Linked DNA regions of Homo sapiens: regions 1 and 3 are each linked to region 2. The links are contacts of gene promoters, found by promoter capture Hi-C in human tissues and cell types (Jung and others, 2019). All regions are on one chromosome and are shown on one strand. Each heading gives the region's core, a stretch centred on a gene start or on the middle of the fragment in contact. The rest is flanking DNA. Distances are from core to core; before and after follow the strand shown.

Region 1 (3,026 bases), core at 233-2,732, 210 kb after region 2:
GTTGGGTGGTTTAGTAAGTAATATTTGGAAAGCCACATGCTGTGTATCAGTGATTCATAATCCACACACAAATTGATTTCCAACCCTCTTGCTCTAAAGCCTGAAATTGGGTGTTATCAATCTCAGCCACTGCCAGTGTCTCTTCCTTTATTTAGAGAGAAACTTTGGGACACTCTGCCACTTGCCAACCAGTAGGATCTGCCTGACCTGCCAGTCTCCAGCATCCCAGAGGCATCGGGTGATGCCTCTGACTTTTCAGAACCCTTCAGAGTACCATCCCACCGGGGCTCACATCTACCCTCTGAAGTCAGCAGTCTGGAAATTATTTTCTTACTAAACTCTTTCTAAGTATGTAAATTATGTGTTGTTAAAGCAAATTAAAATGGAGGCCACAAAAACTCCCTGAGCAGACAAAGCCAGTTAGGTCTTGAAAATAACCTTAACTTTGCTTACATTGGAAATGGGAAGGAGACTTAATTTGGGCTATTTCTTGTGAATGCTTGTATTAGAGTGAAACAATTTAAGCTCAACCAATAAGATGCAGCCAACTAACTTGTAATCATGCAACTAGGGACTTTCCAGTGAGGTAGATCAAATATGGCAACTTTATACCTGTAACCAATCAAATATTTTCTTTGCATGACTTCCACATTCACTCTATAAAAGCTTATCCTTTATGTTTCTCCAATGGAACCCCTGAAGCACTTCTGGCTTGGGGCTGCTTGATTCATGAATTGCTATTCACTCAAATAAACTCTAAAATGTTATTGTGTCCCAGTTTACCTTTTTAATAGTTTGTATAATATAACATTTGGAAGGTTCATACATGTATAAAGAATATAAAATATCAGTATGCTGTCATCATCATACCAAGCTAATATTGTTAATATTTCATATTTGATGCTCATCGGTTTTCCTACACATATGTGCAAACATGTATACATATCATGTACATATACACATATATGTATGTGCATTTATATACACATATATGCATATGATATATCATGTACATATACACATATGCATGTGCATTTATATAAGCATATATGCATATGATACATGCTACTTTGTAATGAAATATACTTTATAAATGAGATTAGTACAACTGAGAGGTGAAATGATGAGTTCAACCATACCTGACATTACTGGTTAGTCGTTTGATTCTAGAAATCTTTTCTCTCCATGACTGTTCTGATGGCCTTCCCCTTTCCTACACACAGTCAGAGCTCTCTACAGGGGTAGCTGGCCTTCTTCAGGCTGGGGTGCTAAGGTGTTTTGTGGAAGAGGCTGGTGGTCGCCTGAGCCTGAGGCCAGAAGGAACACTGTCTTTCCCTCCCTGAGGAGAGGTGAGGCTTAAAGGGCAAATGGCCTTGGCAGAGAGGCCCAGGGCCAGGCTGATCCCAGTGACAGCCCATGACTAGAGGCCACACTGAGAGGATGGTGAGGGCCACCAGGAACAGGGCTTTGCGAGTCTGAAGGAGGCAAGTGGCAGAGTTAAGAGGCTGATTCGGACAGGAGGGGAGTCACACCTGCCACCAAGGTCTCATCCCACAGCCAACAGTGTCCTGGAAGGAAGCCAACTCCTCCAGGTTTTGCTCAGAGCATCCCTTTCGTGTCCAATGCTCTGACACTGTTCTTCCCCTCCCCCTTTCCACTTCTCTCGTAGGCTGTGGATTTTCAGCTGAAATGTCTCATTTCAGTGAACATCCCGAGTGGGATAATGTCCTTCTGCCTCAGAGAATCCAGCAGCACAGAAAAAGACTGGGCCTCCTTCTAGGGGAAGAGGATGGTCTCAGGGCTGCTCTGGAAGGAAGATGAGGATGTCCAACAGTCATTTAACTGTTGCCTGTGCATTTCAGGGACACTCCAGGGTATGAGCCAATTTTTGTTTAATATATTTGTTCCTTTCCTTAGAAAATAAGAGGGGTTGCAATCTTCATGCTTTTGCTCAATCTGCAGGTATCTATTGAGGGCTTGCATTAAAGATGCTGAGCGTAGAGTGTGAATGTGACAGGTGCCATGCTCTCAGTAAGCCTACTGCCTCATGGGAACATTGGTAAAGAAACAGATAAATAATTACAAATAAGTAAACATAAACACAGGCAAACCGATAAATACCAGGAACGGAATTAGTGGGATGAAGCACCAGAGGGCAAAGGAGACGATAGGATGGTCTGTAGGACTTTTAGGCTGAAAATGGACAAATCAACCAGCGCTAATCGTTCAAAATCTAAGAAAGAGTGTGTTCCAGGGAACAGGATGCATACAAGCCTCAAGCATAAACAGCTTGGCTTCTTTGAGGAATTAAACGAAGGCCAGTGTGACAATAAAGAGAATAAGCTTGGAAAGAGAGCCAAAAGCACCTTTGAATTAAACTGAGTTAATATTCATGTGTTTACAACAGTTGAAGCCCTTGGAAAGTCTGGAAAACAGAAAATGCCCATGAAAGGGATACCTCAGGACAGTCTGTAAAGCTAATGCTTCATTTGCTTTGGGTTTGCTCTAACTTCAAAGCAGAGTTGCTCACAGAAAACAGCTATGTTAACTTCCTCCTATCGGAGAGGCAGCTGCAAAGCGATGAAATGCCTCCATGGAGGAGAAGAAACAAGGAGGCGAGAGCCCAATGGACCCTCTCTTGAATAACTGAGAATTCACTCAGAAATGCGAGGACACACACGCGTCGTCACCCAGGCCAGATCTCGGTGGTGAGGCTTGACCTCGACCCAGACACACAGGTCCAGCGGCAGCCACAGTTCATTGTGCTTGGGCCAACCCTGCCTTGCTTTTGCGCTTGGTGATCCTGTCTCTGCAGTGTCCAGCAGCATAGGGCAGGTGGCAACTGCCTTGCGCCTCCAGGAGAGGTGAGAGGAGAGAGAGAGGAAGCTTTGTGAGAGCCTGCTGGAGGCGGTGAGCTGACTCGACTAGAGATTTGATTCACCCAGGAGTTTCCTCTGGAGCTGGAAGGAGGCAAACTGCAGCTGGCTTAGATCCAAGCCCAGGAGATGCCTCATCTGCCCAGGCGG
Region 2 (3,387 bases), core at 636-3,135:
TCCTCCTCCCACCTACTTCTTAAATGGGGCCCCCCCCAGCCCTCCTTCATCCTTTCACCTCTTTACCGCCCGGGGAAGGCCACCTTGCCCCGACGGCGCGCCCTGGGCCTGAGGCCTGCGTCAGTAGGCAGAGCTGCTGGGCAGCAGGTCGTAGCGCCCCCCGCTGTAGACCACGACGCCAGGTGGGTAGTAGAGCAGGTCCGGCTCCGCGGCCGCGTGGGGCGGCGCCGGGGCCTGCAGCCCCTGATCCTCGTGCTCCGGCTTGGTAGTGGCGGTGAAGGGGCGCATGCTGGTGATCGAAGGAGACGCGATGCGCCACAGCAGGCTCTTGAGCGCCTTGCGGAACTCGCGGCGCACGAGGCAGTAGAGGACGGGGTTGAGGCAGCTGTTGGAGTGCGCTAGGCACACGCTCACAGGGAACGCGTATACCTGGCACAGGAAATACTCCTGGCTGAAGGGCACCGCGTTGAACTTGATGAGGATGCTCCAGGTGGTGAGCGCCTGGTTGGGCAGCCAACACAGGAAGAAGGACAGGACAACGATGGTCACTGATTTGGTGACCTTCGACAGTCTCCGGGCGCTGGCTCCGGTCGGGCGTCCTCCGGCTACCGCGGCCCCTCCTTTGGTCCCCGCCGCGCGGCGGTCGGCGATGAAGCGCACCAGCAGCAGGTAGCACAAGATAATGATGCCCAGCGGCAGCACGAAGCCCAGCAGCACCTTCTGCGAGTGGTAGAGGCCCAGCCAGAACTGCCTGTCGCGGCCCAGCAACTTGTCCGGGAAACGCACCAGGCACAGCTCCTCGCCCATCACCTTGACCGTGGTGGAGAAAATGGCACTGGGCAGCGAGGCCAGCGCGGCCAAAGCCCAGATCCACACACACAGCGCCTTGGCCGAGAAGCAGCAGCTGTCCCCCAGGCTCCGGCCGCAGCAGTCGCCCCGGCCGTGTCCTCGGGTCCGGTGGCTCTTCAGAGCCGAGGCCACCGAATGGTAGCGCGTCACACTCATGGCAGTGAGGAAGAACACGCTGGCGTACATGTTCATGGACGTCACCATGGACACGATCTTACACATGGCCTTGCCGAAGGGCCATTTGAAGTCAAGAGCGTTCTCCACCGCCCAGAAGGGCAGGGTGAGCACAAACTGAAAGTCCGTCAGCGCCAGGTTGGTGACGAAGAGGTTGATAGAGGACTTGCGCCAGCCCTGCATGCTCTTCATCAGGTAGAGAACCAGCAGGTTGCCCGCCAACCCCAGGGCGCACACCACCCAGTACACCACGCTGATGAGAATCCGCACCCGGGCCTCTGTGTCCGCGCTCTCTGCCCCGCCGCTGCCCGGGGGATGTCCTGGCGGCGCGCCGTCCGGCAACTCCAGCCCCAGCTCCCACCACAAGTCCGGAAGCTGCAGCGACGCGTTACCACTCGTGTTGGCCGCCTCCAGAAGGTCCGGGACCAGACTGAAGAGTTCTGCTAGCTTGTCCCCGCCTGCTGCCTTATTCATGGTGGCTATCGTGGCTGCATCGGCCATCTGCATGCGCAGGTACCTCTAGGTCATGTTCTGGGGGACAAGACCTAAGATAACACGGTTTACCCCAGTTTTGTTGCCAGGCTAGCCTGCGGGACGTGCGTGGGAGCTTTCAAAGCAGCTACTGAAGAGAGAGCCCAGGAACTGGGTACTAAGCGCGTCCTGGCGCGCAGCGAACGCCCTGGACGCAGGAGTTGAGCTCAGCGGCTGCTTTGGAGCAGAGTTGAGGAGTGCAGCCCGTAAGGCAAGCACTCGGCGTCCAAGGGTTCTCAGGCCAAGCTCGGAGTCCCTAGGTCCTTATGTACAACGCAGACTTCCCCTCTCCGTGTCCCGCGGTCACTGGGGCACTGGCGCATAACTCCCCCAGCCGCTCAATTGTGCGATTTGGGGCCGCTCGCTCCCTTTCAAATACCTTTATCCGTTTCCTCTGGGACTGCTTGGATGAGGTTTCCGTCCTTGGAGAGAAAGAGATCGTAGAGTTCCATCCACCACGCTCAGCTTCCTGGAGGTCAGTGGGTGTCTGCGTCTCTCCGCGGTTGTCAACTCCGGGTGGGTTGCCAGCGGCTCTCACCAGTTACGGTGGCACTTGCACGGCCAAGGCGGCGGGCCCCAAGGAGCATGCGTAATCCCGGGGCGCCGCGAGGGGCGCTTTCCGAGGTGCTGAACCCAGCCGCGCCCGCGCCGCGAGGGAGAGTTGAGCTGCAGGCAAAGCCCACCCGCCACTCCAGTTTTCCTCTCCAGAGTTTCAGCAGGAAGGGTCTTAAGAGTTTATTTTACAGCTGCAGGAGAAAGTCGGCTTTGACGTGAGTTTCTTCTTCCTTTCTTATTCCCAAACATTATGATTAGAAGTTTTTTTTTTCTTTCTTCCTCACTCCCACTTTTCACCGGAATTATTCCATTTGGTGAGGAATTGTTCTAAAAATATGAGCTATCCTGCTTACTTTCCTTCTTGAAAGTAATAACAGTGGCCTCTTTTCATGCTCAAATGAGATAATGGGTACTTATTGGATACACAAAGGACAGCTCCACCTCCCCTCTTTAATTAGCTGACCACTTACGCAGTACCTGTGTTTGTCAGGATTTTCAAAGGGTCTTCACATGGCAGAAGTCTGGGCTCAAGGGTTGCCCCTACTTTAATGTATTCTGAGAGGTGACACAAAAACAGAGCAAACAACTGATGGTCCTACTTCACAGAAATTAAATGCCCTAAGCCCAAAGCGCTTCAACAAATTGTTTGATCACATACAGGCCACAGTCTCTTTACCTAGATGCAAATAGAATAGAGGATACCACTGGGCTGATCGTGAACCACCAGCCCTCCTATTTCCATTACTGTTAGCATCAGGACTCTTTTTCAGGCGTTTTTCAGACCAATGGAAGTACATTCTAAGGACTCTTCCAAGGGAATGAGTGGAAACCACTTGAATTACTTCTCAAGCTTCAGTCTACATAAATGCCAGGTCAATCGCTCTGGTGTAAATTACACTTTTAGGATTTACTTTAAAATTTTGAAATGTTTTCCTCTTGGTCTGGGACTAAACTGAAACCAAAGTTTCTTAAGCATAATTGTCCTCACTCCTGGAGTACTACAGAACTCCCAGCTTTACTTAAGGAGATAAAGAGGATGCAACCTTCAAGCTGAGGAGATAAGAAACAGAAAAAGAAAGAAAGAGAAAAACGAAAAAGAAAGAAAGAAAGAAAGAAAGAAAGAAAGAAAGAAAGAAAGAAAAGAAAAGAAAGAGAAAAAGGAAAAAAGAAAAAAAAAGAAACAAGAAACAATCTTGATTCCAAAGGACTTTTAGCCCTGAAGAGCACACACCTTGCTACGGATGCTGCACAGCTCCGTCTTCCCACTAGAGGGAGTAA
Region 3 (3,541 bases), core at 962-3,461, 150 kb after region 2:
AATAACACCAGCCAAAGGTTGAGTGGAGTTGGAGTTCGGCTCACACTCTGCTCACCAAGTTGTCCCTTATGTGCAGGACTGCAAGTATAGAGAAGAGGCTATGACTGGCTTTTCAAGGATACTATCTTCTTGTTTTTGTTCTGTGCCTATGGAAACAGCCTGATAACCAAGTGTCAGTCTGTTCTGCCAATCATTGCTCCACACAGGGTCAGAGATAGCTGCAGTGGCAGGTGTTGAATCAACACATATCTGCTGAACATCACCTGTGCTTAACACTTGTGCCAGGCTCTTTGAGGGATAAAAAGTATAATAAGCCCACCAAATTCAATAATTGGATGTCAATTATGTAAACTGTAGAGATATTATCACGAGGTCAAGGAAAACCAGTACTTTTCAGACAGAATTTTAGTCCTATCTAATTTTCTCAAATGGGCACTGGATGAAGTAGGGGAGCCAGTTACGTGACATGCACATTCATGGTATCAAGCAATTGGCTCTATAGTACGGGGTCCCTTTGCTACCAATCTAGCGGACTTAAAAGTGAAAGCAGGCTGGGCATGGTGGCTTATGCCTGTGATCCCAGTACTTTGGGATGCCGAGGCAGGCAGATCACTTGAGGTCAGGAGTTCGAGACCAGCCTGGCTAACGTGTTGAAGTCCCATCTCTACTAAACAAACAAATTAGCTGGGTATGGTGGTGGGCGCCTGTAATCCCAGCTACTCTGGAGCCTGGGGCAGGAGAATTGCTTGAGCCTGGGAGGCAGAGGTTGCAGTGAGCCGAGATCGTGCCACTGCATTCCAGCCTGGATGAAAGAGTGAGACTCCATCTCAAAAAAAAAAAAAAAAAAAAGTGTGAAAGCACGTTTAAGCTAAGACTAGGTATAAATGTAAAGATGTCACAGATAATTACCACCAGGACCTATGGACAAAGAGACATCACTAGGGTCAATGCAGCCTAACAGTCTTCAAGGAGTATAGGATCTGAGTTAGGCTTGGAGGATGGGTATTAGTAAAGCTTCCTTTATATCAAATGACAGATACCAACTTCGCTATCCTAAGGCCAAAAAAAAAAAAAGAAAAGGAAATAAAAAAGAGTGGAATTGATTGGGTGGTTTGGAAGGATATCTGGGGTATCTCAAGGAACCACAGACAGACTTAACAACTAAGACTCAGAAATTTCAGGGACCAAAGAAACAAGCATTCATGGACATTTTCTCTAGAGAATTTCCATTAAAGTGGCTTAGCTGCCTATTATATAGGTCACTGCATAGAAGTACAAATTTCTAATTCCCAGGTGATAAAAATCTGATTGGCTTGGATAAACACTTTTCCTAGTTCTTTTTTTATTTAGTAGTCCTTGTTTTTGTTAAAAAAAATTTTTAAGGCATCTAGGCACAGCAAGGATATATGTATAAGGGATTAATAAAATATATCTTACAGGAATTTAGAGCTGAAAGAGATTGAGACCAACTCCCTTATTTTACAGTTGGAGATTCAGAAAAGTTTAGGTGACTTGCCTAGCATTACAGAGCATATTAATATCAGGGTCAGGTTGAGAATCTCAAAATTCCCAGTACCTCATATTGCCCAGGATGTTTTCATTGGAGACTTTTATATTTTAAGCCTGAACATCCAACTCAATAACTACCAGACATCTAATTCTTGCTGAGAGTCAAGAGGTACTGGCCAGCCATGCTGCTGTGCATGTGAGTAGCTGTGACCTGGGTGGGGTAAGAAATCAGGTGTGGAGCTTAGCTCAGAGGCCTTGTCCTCCATCTCCTGGAGTGGTTTTAGATCTGGCTAGATTGCTTTCATCATGAGAGTGTGACCGCATGCTCTGTAGTGGAGGGACTGGGAATCACCATGCAACCCTCTGACCAATGTTAACATCACTAAATGTGCAAGAACCAGACATTAGGGGTTTCTCCTGTGGGATGCAACAGGAAGAACACAGCACCACCTATTCAGTATTCTTACATATACACATATACATGTAGCTGATGTCTGCACCTTAGCCATATATATATCAACATGCATATATATATATATATATATATATATATGTTTGTATGTCAAGCTAGAAGTTTGATTAGAGTCAAGTATATGTGTGTTTGTGTGTATACCTGAATCTCTATGTGCACACATGTGCGTGTGTGTACACACACACACACTTTAATAAAGCCTTTAGCTCTGTTGACCAATTTACAGGAGAAAAAGGTTAAAGGAGAAAGCAACAGACAAATCCATATGTGGGACATTCTTTTTTCTTTTTTCTTTTTTTTTTTTTTTTGAGATGGAGTCTTGCTCTGTCACCCAGGCTGGAGGAGTGCAGTGGCACGATCTCGGCTGTCTGCAACCTCCGCCTCCTGGGTTCAAGCGATTCTTCTGCCTCAGCCTTCCGAATAGCTGGGACTACAGGCATGCGCCACCATGCCCAGCTAATTTTTGTATTTTTAGTAGAGACGGGGTTTCACCACATTGGCCAGGATAGTCTTGATCTCTTGACCTTGTGTTCCATCCACCTTGGCCTCCCAAAGTGCTGGGATTACAGGCGTGAGCCACCGCGCCCGGCCAGATGTGGGACATTCTAAAGGACAATCAACTGGTTTCTGCAATTAGCCAATGGCAGGAAAAAAAGGGAGATGGAACTGCTCTAAAAGAAAACAGACTTAAGGATAAAACAACTAAATACTATGTGTGGACTCTGGCCGCACCTGATTCGAATGGATGAACTGTAAAGAGACTTTTTTTTTAAAGAGCACTACAAAATTTGATAATCTATTAGATAACACCCAGGAATTGTTCTATAACCTTGTTAGGTGTGATAATAATATTGTGGTTATGTTTGAAAAGGTCCGTAATTTTAAGGATTCATAGTGTAGTCTCGGGGTGAAATGACATGAGATAGCGGATTTGCTTTAAGATACTTTGGCAATCAACACTGTTGTATTCTTAGGCAAAGTAAATCCATGAGAGGCAGGCTTGAACTGTCCATTTAGAAAGAAGAGGCTGCAGACCACATGGCGCTTCCATGCCAAGAACGAACTTGAGAGCACTGTGGGGAAATGGACTTTCCCCTGTGTTTGTTCATTTGTCAGGGACACTAAGTAATTTCAAAATTAAAGAAAAGCCAGCCACAGCTCTGAAGTGCCAAGGACTGTCAAGAACGCTGTGTGTGTTTCTATCAAAGCACTGATGTTGCTAACACATTCATCATTTATTTTTAAACCTGCTGGGACTGCTGTTGAGGTACTCTACGCAGCCACTAGCCATTTTCCTCCTTGGGCAGGGTTATTAGCTTCTGCTTTCCTCCAGAGAGACCAATGAGGGAAGTGCAGAAACCTCCCTTGGCTTTTCTCTGACAGAATAAAGAAGAGACCCTGAGAGCGGTCTAGAGACCCTAAAAGCAGACTGTGTATTAAGCAGTGAGGCATGGACAATGGTGGCTGTTCCATCTCCAACCTCTCCTTGGAGATGGCTCACTCTCAGCCCTGGGGGAGGCCATGTGTGGGCAGCATCTGCTGCTGGAGTTTCATTGGCAG

What was found. The method cuts DNA at HindIII sites, captures the fragments that hold promoters and counts their contacts. A contact is called where the count stands out against the background at its distance.
Region 1: a contact is called between a fragment that was not itself captured here and the fragment with the promoter of RXFP3 in region 2, in 2 of the 25 tissues and cell types used here (IMR-90 fibroblasts and aorta).
Region 3: a fragment that was not itself captured here is called in contact with the fragment with the promoter of RXFP3 in region 2 in 1 of the 25 tissues and cell types used here (mesenchymal stem cells).

The regions. Positions count from the first base shown.
Region 1 is chr5:33,726,919-33,729,944 of GRCh38, reverse strand. The region is part of intron 3 of ADAMTS12 (ADAM metallopeptidase with thrombospondin type 1 motif 12); the gene reads left to right. Among named protein-coding and RNA genes, the nearest start is that of ADAMTS12, 160 kb to the left of the region's middle. The HindIII fragment of the contact is 3,802 bases long and covers 1-3,026 here.
Region 2 is chr5:33,934,884-33,938,270 of GRCh38, reverse strand. RXFP3 (relaxin family peptide receptor 3) reads right to left here and starts at 1,885. Exons shown (of 1, transcript NM_016568.3): 1 at 1-1,885. The coding sequence starts at 1,530. The coding sequence ends at 121. The HindIII fragment of the contact is 8,299 bases long and covers 1-3,387 here.
Region 3 is chr5:33,789,304-33,792,844 of GRCh38, reverse strand. The region is part of intron 2 of ADAMTS12 (ADAM metallopeptidase with thrombospondin type 1 motif 12); the gene reads left to right. Among named protein-coding and RNA genes, the nearest start is that of ADAMTS12, 100 kb to the left of the region's middle. RefSeq lists an enhancer at 3,431-3,541. The HindIII fragment of the contact is 7,532 bases long and covers 1-3,541 here.